Linked DNA regions of Homo sapiens: region 1 is linked to region 2. The links are contacts of gene promoters, found by promoter capture Hi-C in blood cells and fetal thymus (Javierre and others, 2016). All regions are on one chromosome and are shown on one strand. Each heading gives the region's core, a stretch centred on a gene start or on the middle of the fragment in contact. The rest is flanking DNA. Distances are from core to core; before and after follow the strand shown.

Region 1 (4,592 bases), core at 1,251-3,750, 2.7 Mb before region 2:
TGGTACAGGCCTCCCTGCCGCCAGGCCTTTGCTTTCAACATGTGGATCCTGATTGAACCAGAGTGGTGGTGGCTTGTTTTTTTTTTATTTTTATTTTTTAATTTTTGCGCTTAAAGTCTCGGGGTCAGTGCCTTGCAGTAGTCTTTCAGCTAGTACATTTTGTTATTCGGGTGTTGGTGTGTTTTTTTTGTTTTTTTTTTTAATTAGTCGTCGGAGGCCGGGCCTCTTGGTTGAAATAGGGAAAAACGTATTGCTATTGTCATATTTGTGATTGCGTTTTAGGCAACATGGTGTTAAAGGTTATTGACATGGAGCTAAAATATGCATCGTACACTGTAGCATGCCAGAGCAAGTAAAGTTACTAGTGACTAAAGTCAGTGACAGCATTTCTGGTAAACAACACTGCTCAGTACGGGAGTAATACAGCGCTGTGAGCTTTTTGAGCTATTGATAACATTTTTGTTTATTAACGTTAGAGAGAAGAAGAAGGAGGTTCCTGCTGTGCCAGAAACCCTTAAGAAAAAGCGAAGGAATTTCGCAGAGCTGAAGATCAAGCGCCTGAGAAAGAAGTTTGCCCAAAAGATGGTAAGTAAACTTTTTGAGGCACTAGCACATAAGGAGGCGCCTTATTGGGATTGAGGATGAGGTGAATGTTCTTGGCAAGATTTACTTCCTAACTGTACTGAGTAATTGCTTAGCTACCTAATGTTACAATCTGAAGGTAGTGGGGTTTTTTGGTGGGGGATGTAATTGCATACTGTGGCAAGAAAAGATTTAAAGGAAACATGTTGTAGTTTTCTTTTTAATGATTGGCATTGCTAATTGTGATTGAGCTAAAAATTATGAATAACTGATTATTGGTTTTCAGCTTCGAAAGGCAAGGAGGAAGCTTATCTATGAAAAAGCAAAGCACTATCACAAGGAATATAGGCAGATGTACAGAACTGAAATTCGAATGGCGAGGATGGCAAGAAAAGCTGGCAACTTCTATGTACCTGCAGAACCCAAATTGGCGTTTGTCATCAGAATCAGAGGGTAAGTTCAGTTTTACTGCATTCGGGTTTGAATGGGAAAAAAAAAAAAAACCTTCACATTACTTCTGGGAGCCCTGATTCTGAAACACCGGAGTAACAATATTTTAGGGGAAGCTAGAACAAGGAGGGTGCTGATCACTAATGGTTTAGTTGCAAGCCATGTTCCCCAAGCTCCTATCCCTTCTCTTAATAGAATACAGAAATTCAGTGTGTAACATGAGAGGATTCCTATCTGTTTAGGTAGGATTCGATATTCAAAACTATAATGGTTAGTATTAATAAAAATTTCGATGAAAGGCAAATGCATTTCTGGTCCGTTTTCACCACAGTATCAATGGAGTGAGCCCAAAGGTTCGAAAGGTGTTGCAGCTTCTTCGCCTTCGTCAAATCTTCAATGGAACCTTTGTGAAGCTCAACAAGGCTTCGATTAACATGCTGAGGATTGTAGAGCCATATATTGCATGGGGGTAAGTCTCTTTTCTCCTTTGATTTCTATTTGATAAATTGGTTATGTAGCAACATGAATTTTAGATGTTTTAACAGTGGTCACCTTATTTATGTTTGCTTTTTCACTTCAGGTACCCCAATCTGAAGTCAGTAAATGAACTAATCTACAAGCGTGGTTATGGCAAAATCAATAAGAAGCGAATTGCTTTGACAGATAACGCTTTGATTGCTCGATCTCTTGGTAGGTTCTATTTGGGGGAAAATTTGGTATTAGACCATGCGATAATTTCTTACCCTCTTGTGGCCGTACATTTCTCACTATTGTGAATCTTCATGTGTTCCCTATGATTCTTGATTTAGCTTAAAAGAAAACGTAAGACATGGTTTCATTAGCTTGAACCTTATCTTTGTAAAGCCATGCATTTACCTTGTTTATTCCTGGTTATGTTTTCATCTCACAGCCTATTCAAAAAGATTTTGAATAATTATTTCAAAACTTTTTGCAACTTTAATAATCTTAAATAACCTTAAAATATTTAGGTAAATACGGCATCATCTGCATGGAGGATTTGATTCATGAGATCTATACTGTTGGAAAACGCTTCAAAGAGGCAAATAACTTCCTGTGGCCCTTCAAATTGTCTTCTCCACGAGGTGGAATGAAGAAAAAGACCACCCATTTTGTAGAAGGTGGAGATGCTGGCAACAGGGAGGACCAGATCAACAGGCTTATTAGAAGAATGAACTAAGGTGAGAGACCTCATCCTGAGAAAGGTTGAGTTAATGTTAGAGTATAAGTGGTGGTAATCTTGAATACTTTTCCCATTAAATATTGATGGGGGTTTGAATTTTAATCAGTGCTTTTGTGGGGAGTGGGGGTCAACTATCTTAATGATTACAGTTGGTTTGTTTACTGCTTTTGAGGACCTTTCTGGAGGAAAGGAAAAGCCTGTTTTGGGGAGTCTTTAAAGATGGAAATTGGGTGGTCTTAAAAATGTAAACTCAATCATTACTTTATAACTGCCTAGTTTATGTTAATTGTTAGCTGCCTAAAGTGTTTTCTAATGGTTTTCTTTTTTCCTTTCAGGTGTCTACCATGATTATTTTTCTAAGCTGGTTGGTTAATAAACAGTACCTGCTCTCAAATTGAAATATATTGTTGTATTTGTGATTTGTTGTTGTTGTTGTTAGCCTGCCTCTGTCTTCCCTTAACTACTGTGGCAAGTGTGGTGTGTGATAAAATTAAGCCAAATCAACAGCCCATTTCGTGCAAAATCAGGGTCGAGTCTGTGTGAAAGACATCTCTTGGGTTTTTAAAAGGCTTTTCTATACAAAAGATTTTAATTTTTTGTTTTTTAACTGTGCTGAGTGATTCGAAATGGGTTTATTCTAAGAAAGCCTGTTTCACAAGCATTTGTACATGATTTGTCGGTAAGGTAATCCAACTTTGGTTTATGGAAAAAATTGAATTTAGTTGCTAAAATTTATTTCTCGGGCCTTCGCTTGTTTATAAACTGCCATGTAAATGTGTTGTTTTCCTTTTGCATTCCATTTTTGTGTTCTTGTTTTGCATCTTTTGCCATACTTACGTGAGTTACTAATAATTGTTACATACTGTGGGTATTATGAAGGAAGGCATGAAATTTGTGCCCAGGGATGCAAATTATTTCAGAGCATCTGATGAAATTAATGGGCAAAAACTTCAAAGGTTTTTTTGTAAATAACATTCCTTTATACTTCATGTATTGTTTCACCTAGACTAGTGAACAATGTAGAGTGTAACATGAAGTACATAGAATGAGAGTAAAAATGTTTGTGGTCCTCATTTAGTTGTCAAAGTTCTGACACACTGAAACAGCTCCCTTAGTAATTATTTTGGTACTACTGCTCCACAGTCATTTATTGCTTTTTAATATTCGAAAGTTGCTAGACAAATAGAATTTCTTTGAGTTCTTTGTTCCTGGTTTTGGGACCTATTTCTCTGGCTTAGTAAGTTTGTTTAGGGTCAGTGAATTTTGGAGAGAAATCAAGATGATCGTTTATAAAAATCATTTTACATATTTATGATTGTATCAGTGTTTTGCTAGATGTTTTTTGTCTTAGCAGTTGGGTCAATATTTTGAAATAGTACATGGATATCTAGGTAGAGCCAAAGAGTTTATTTTTTAATTTTCCTTTGTAGAGATGAGATCCACACCAGCCTGTATTCCCCAGCATGTTACTGAACTCCTGGCCTCAAGCAATCCTACTGCCTCAGTCCCCTGAATAGTTGGGATTACAGGCATGACCCACTGCCTCCAGAGGGTTTTTAAGTTATAAATTCAGTTTTGTCTTACTGCTTTGGTAGATAGAGAGTACAGTTCCCAGTGTTAGCACATCCAGTGTCATGAAGGGTAGTTGTGCCTCAGAAGATGTCAGAGCCTGTTTGGCTTCCAGGTTTTAGAGGAATAGTGAGGGCCATCAGTGGCCTCTGCAGGGTCAGAATTAAGACTAATTATGGAATGAAGTTGTACAGATGGTGTATTGCTTGCTTAATCTAGGTGCAGGTGGGTGGGTGCATGAAATGTGGGAAGTCTTCATTGGGATAGGAATAAGCACTTTATATACAGAGAGATACTTAGCAAAGCTTTTTTTAAAAAAAAATATATAAATATATAGCCCATGCAGACACATATTGTAAGTGTGGCCTGGGGCCAGGGAGGATGGGGAAATGTGGGAGGGGTTGCAGAGAACCAGGATTCCCATAGAGAACAGAGTAAAGTGGGATAACCAATCTGGTTTTATAAGAGGATTGTGAGGAACAATAATAGGTACGAAAATGTTTGTGAGCTGGTGGAACCTATTCAAATGCAGATTAACACCTGATTAGGAAACTCACTTCTTATAAATGTCATTGCTTTCAAGGGATCCTCCTCTGGAAGGCCTAACCAACCTTAGGGGTCTGGGCACCCAGTAGGTTCTCCTACAAGATTACACCTCATATATGTTTATTTCCTGTTCATCCTTCTAAGGTCCGGCTTTCTCTAGTGGATGGTCCCTTAGCTATCTCAGTTTTTATAAAGTTGTCTTGGACTCACTGGCCTTTAACCAGTGTTAACCTAGTTAGTAACT
Region 2 (4,213 bases), core at 1,697-4,196:
GCAAGGATGGGAAGAAATTGGAACCTCTACACATTGCTAATAGGATGGGAAATAGTGCATTCACTTTGGAAATTAGTGTGAGAGTTCCTCAAAACGTCAAACATAAAGTTGCCTTATGATCAGCAATTCCACTGCTAGGTATATACCCAAAGGAATTGAGTTCAAACAAAAACTTGTACACAAATGTTCATCAACTGATGAATAAGATGTGCTATAGCCATACAATGGAATATTATTTGGCCATAAAAAGGAGTGAAGTACTGATACATGTTACAACATCGATGAACCTTGGAAACATTATCTTCAGTGAAAGAAGTCAGTCACAAAAGATCATGATTCTATTTACATGTAATGTCCAAGCTGGCCATGGTGGTTCACACCTGTAATCCCAGCACTTTGGGAGGTGGGAGAATTTCTTGAGGCCAGGAGTCCAAGGTTGCAGTGAGCTATGATCATGCCACTGTACACCAGCCTAGGCAACAGAGCAAGACCCCATCTCAAAAAAAGAAAGAAAAGAAACAAAGAAAGAACAAAAAGAAATGTCCACAATAAGCAAATATAGAGAGGTAGAAAATAGGTCAGTTGTTGCCAAGGGCTGCCAAGACTATGAGGGGAAATGGAGAGTTACTGGTAATGTGTATAAGGTTTCTTTTAGAGATTACAAGAATGTTCTAAAGTTATATTATGGTGATTGTTGCACAACTTTGCAAACATACTAAAAACCACAGAATTGAATATCTCAAATAGCTGAACTATATGACATAAATTATACTGCAATAAAACTATTTCAAAAATGCAATTGAATCATAAAAGATAAATTGCTTAGGTCACAGAATTCAGTGAAGCTTTCGAAGAGGTCATGTGTAAATGAGACATGAAGGAACAGCAGGAGCCTGCTGTGTCTATGAAAGGACAGGAGAAAACATTCCAGACAGAGACAGCAGTACACGCAAAGGCAGGGGAGAGCATGGGAAGAGAGCATGTCATGGCATGTACAGTCGTCCCTCAGTCTTCACAGGGGACTGGTTCCAGGGCCCCCGCGGATACCGAAATCCACCCATGCTCAGGTGCCTTATATAAGATGATGCAATATTCTGGTAAAGAATATCCTAAATCCTCCCACAGACCTCCAATCATTTCTAGATTACTTATAATAACACAACATAACTGCTAAATAAATAGTTGGCTGTACTATATTATTTAGGGAATAATCATGGGGGGGTAGTCTGTAGATGTTCAGTACAAATGCAGTTTTTTTCTTGAATATCTTTTACTCCAGGTTGGTTGAATCCACAGTGTATGCGGCACCCACAGATATGGAGAGGCAACTGTATAGTGTGTGTAGTCAATAATGCTGGTACAGAGATTATGGCCTGTAGATGCAGGGCTCCAGTCTGTTGGGGTAGGCAAGGACCAAATCAGAAAGGGCTATTTCATCATGCTAGCTTTCCATGAAGGGAAAGGGAACCCGCTGAAAAACTTTCTGCCAGTAGAAGCATCATTCTAGTATAAACGTTGAAAGGTGATCTGAAGGGAAATGAAACTAGTGATTGCCCAGAAGGAGGAAAAGAATAATCCCTGACTAAATTTATAAAGCCCTTACTCCCCGCTAAGCAGTTTCCTTCAATCATCTCATTTAATCACTAAAATGAGCAATAGTTATCCCCACTTTATAGATGATATCCACAGGGCTTGCTCCCTCACCTCCTGCAGGTCTTCAGGCAAGTATAAGTGCCTCGCACTTTCCTATTCCCCTTGCTTTATTTTTCTCCTGGTTGCTCAACTCAATTTAACATCTGTTTCGCTTTTGAAATCTTGTTTAAAGATTCTCTCCCACACTAGAATGATAAGTCCCTAGGAATAATTTAATTTGTATTTCAGTTCTGTATCCCCAGTGCCCAGGACACAGTCAACCCTCAGTAAGTACATAAATGAATACATTTTTAAAAATGAGGAAATCGGGTCCCATAGAGATTAAGTAACTTGTCCTTGATCGTACAAGTAATAAGTGGCAGAATTCTGATTTAACAACCCACATTCTTAAACCACTAAGTGGTTACACCAGAGTTGTAATATTGTAGGCAAGAGGCAAGTACCCTCGGACTGCGGTAGTGGGGAAGCGGGGTGATAGGTCTGCCTCGAATTGGTGATGACTGGATGTGGAAGGGCGCTGAAAGGGCTCAATCTAGCATGACTTTGGTTTCTACATTTGGCTTATGGGTAAACAGGAGAGCAATTCTTCAGGAAAAAGAATACAAAGGACTCCAGGTTTGGGCAAAACGATAAGAGGAGGACGTGTCTTAATCCACGATCCTTTTTAACTCTTTTACTATTTCCCTTAGATTACTAAAACATGTTGTTAATTTGAATATATGTGAAGCCAGTAAACCCAAACTGATCCCTTCGTCTTCAGTCTGAGGCCAGTGGGGGATAGGGGTGGGGATGGGGACGGGGATGGGGGTGGGGACGGAGAGGCAGACCAGAATAGGGTCAGCTCTTTTTTTTTTTTTAAGTTAGTCCAAACTTACCAAGAGTAGAAATAAGTCCCCAGCAGTGCTTAACTCTGAGGTAATTTTTAAGGCAGATGCTAAAACTGGAGAATACACCGTACCCTTGTGGAGTCAGGTAGTATTCGTAGTTTTAGATTATCCTGACGGTGTTAGTCACTTGTAGAAGTGACAATGTGCAACAGGCCACTGACACCCAATCCCTGGATGGCCAGGAGGGCAGGAGGGCACCCGGCCGCGGCCTCAGGCTGCTGAGCAGGCGCAGGAAGCTCGCGCCTCAAACGACTCCCAAACCCGGGCCCGGCGCGAAGCAGGGAAGCGCCGCTCACATTCCTGCACGCTCGCCCGGCCGCGGGCCAGCGGCCTCCGGTCCCCAGGTGGCGCTGTGGGCTCGCGGAGGCGGCCGCGGCACCAGGGAGCGTCGTCTCCCTGGTGCGCATGCTCGCCCCCGCTGCGGGCTAGCTGTTGTGTTTTTTTTTTTCCCCCGGGCGGCCCGGCGGCTGCGTACTGGCTGTGGGATGGGAAGTGAAGCCCCAGCGAGCGGCTGCAGCGGGGCCGTGAGGAGCAGCCAGCGGGAGGCGGCGGCGAGTCGGTGAGCAGCTGGGAAGAGCAGAACCGGGGCGGAGCACCTGCAGGCGCGGGCGGCGGCCCCACCATGGCGATTCGCAAGAAAAGCACCAAGAGCCCCCCAGTGCTGAGCCACGAATTCGTCCTGCAGAATCACGCGGACATCGTCTCCTGTGTGGCGATGGTCTTCCTGCTGGGGCTCATGTTTGAGGTGAGCCCGCCCCGAGTCCCAACCGCCTGCCCCGCCACCTCCAGCCCGGGCCCGGGCTCCAGATGCCAGCCCCGGCTTCTCCGCCCAGGACGCGGGGGGCTCGGGCCCGGGGTGGGTGCAGACCCCCAGTCCCTGAGGTGCAGGCCTTCCCTGCCCTGCCCCACGTCGGCGGCAGCTCCCCGGCGGCCGGCCCGGAGATGCAAAGTCCCGGTGGGCCTCATCGCGGCCCGCAGGGGGTGGGGACCGCCGCGTCGCCCCCTTCCTGACCCGCCGCCGCCCCCTCCCGCAGGCTGCGCGGCGCAGTTCCTGGTTCCCGCGAAGGGTTACGTGGCAGCCGGCGAGGGGCCTGCGGGCGGGGGCGGCCCCTGCGCTGCCGAGCTGGCTCGGGGCGGGTGGGCGGACTTGGGGGGACTGCCAGCCTCGGCCGCGGTGAGCGTCAGCCCCGCGAGGGCCGGGGAAGGCCGAGGCCCGGCCCCCGGGTCTGAGGAGTGCCGGCCTGGAGACCACAGGCCCCGAGTGACAGGGGAGCCCCCGGTAGCTCCGAGATTGGGGTGAGCGAGAAACCGGAGTCAGGCATCTGCTTTCGACTTGAAGGGCGGTGGCCGCCGGGCACCGGCGCAGTGGAGGCGCGCCAGATTGTTTTCATTTTTGTCTTTTAAACTGATATTATTACCAGTTAACGAACTTTTTGCCCTGACGCTTTAAAGAAACAAGGTCTGATGGATAAATCGAGGTTCTGAACAGCGGTGCCAAGGAATCGAGTAATTTTGTTTCTTGAAGTAGGAGAGGATGGGAATGTCAGGAGTGTGTAAATTCTCTTCCCACGTATCTAGTATTTTGATGACTTATTTAACAGCTGTTGAATGTGGATGATAAACTTTGCAAGGTGAACGAGTAACATCCTACGTTTTTCCCCTCGCTCCCCAAT

What was found. Contacts are between HindIII fragments. The CHiCAGO score rates a contact against its expected background, and 5 or more counts as called.
Region 1: a contact is called between a fragment that was not itself captured here and the fragment with the promoter of TRAM1 in region 2, in 1 of 17 cell types (naive CD8 T cells). The highest score is 5.2, in naive CD8 T cells.

Annotation. Positions count from the first base shown.
Region 1 is chr8:73,288,682-73,293,273 of GRCh38, reverse strand. RPL7 (ribosomal protein L7) reads left to right here. Exons shown (of 7, transcript NM_000971.4): 2 at 477-585; 3 at 869-1,035; 4 at 1,364-1,501; 5 at 1,613-1,722; 6 at 2,022-2,231; 7 at 2,569-3,032. The coding sequence ends at 2,230. Among named protein-coding and RNA genes, the nearest start is that of RPL7, 2.7 kb to the left of the region's middle. RefSeq lists enhancers at 10-59, 1-389. The HindIII fragment of the contact is 3,218 bases long and covers 892-4,109 here.
Region 2 is chr8:70,607,149-70,611,361 of GRCh38, reverse strand. It overlaps TRAM1 (translocation associated membrane protein 1), which reads left to right and starts at 2,946. Exons shown (of 11, transcript NM_014294.6): 1 at 2,946-3,285. The coding sequence starts at 3,163. It overlaps LACTB2-AS1 (LACTB2 antisense RNA 1), which reads right to left and starts at 2,785. Exons shown (of 4, transcript NR_038881.1): 1 at 2,529-2,785. RefSeq lists silencers at 2,780-2,949, 3,030-3,079, 3,140-3,199, 3,250-3,429, 3,450-3,899. The HindIII fragment of the contact is 3,860 bases long and covers 848-4,213 here.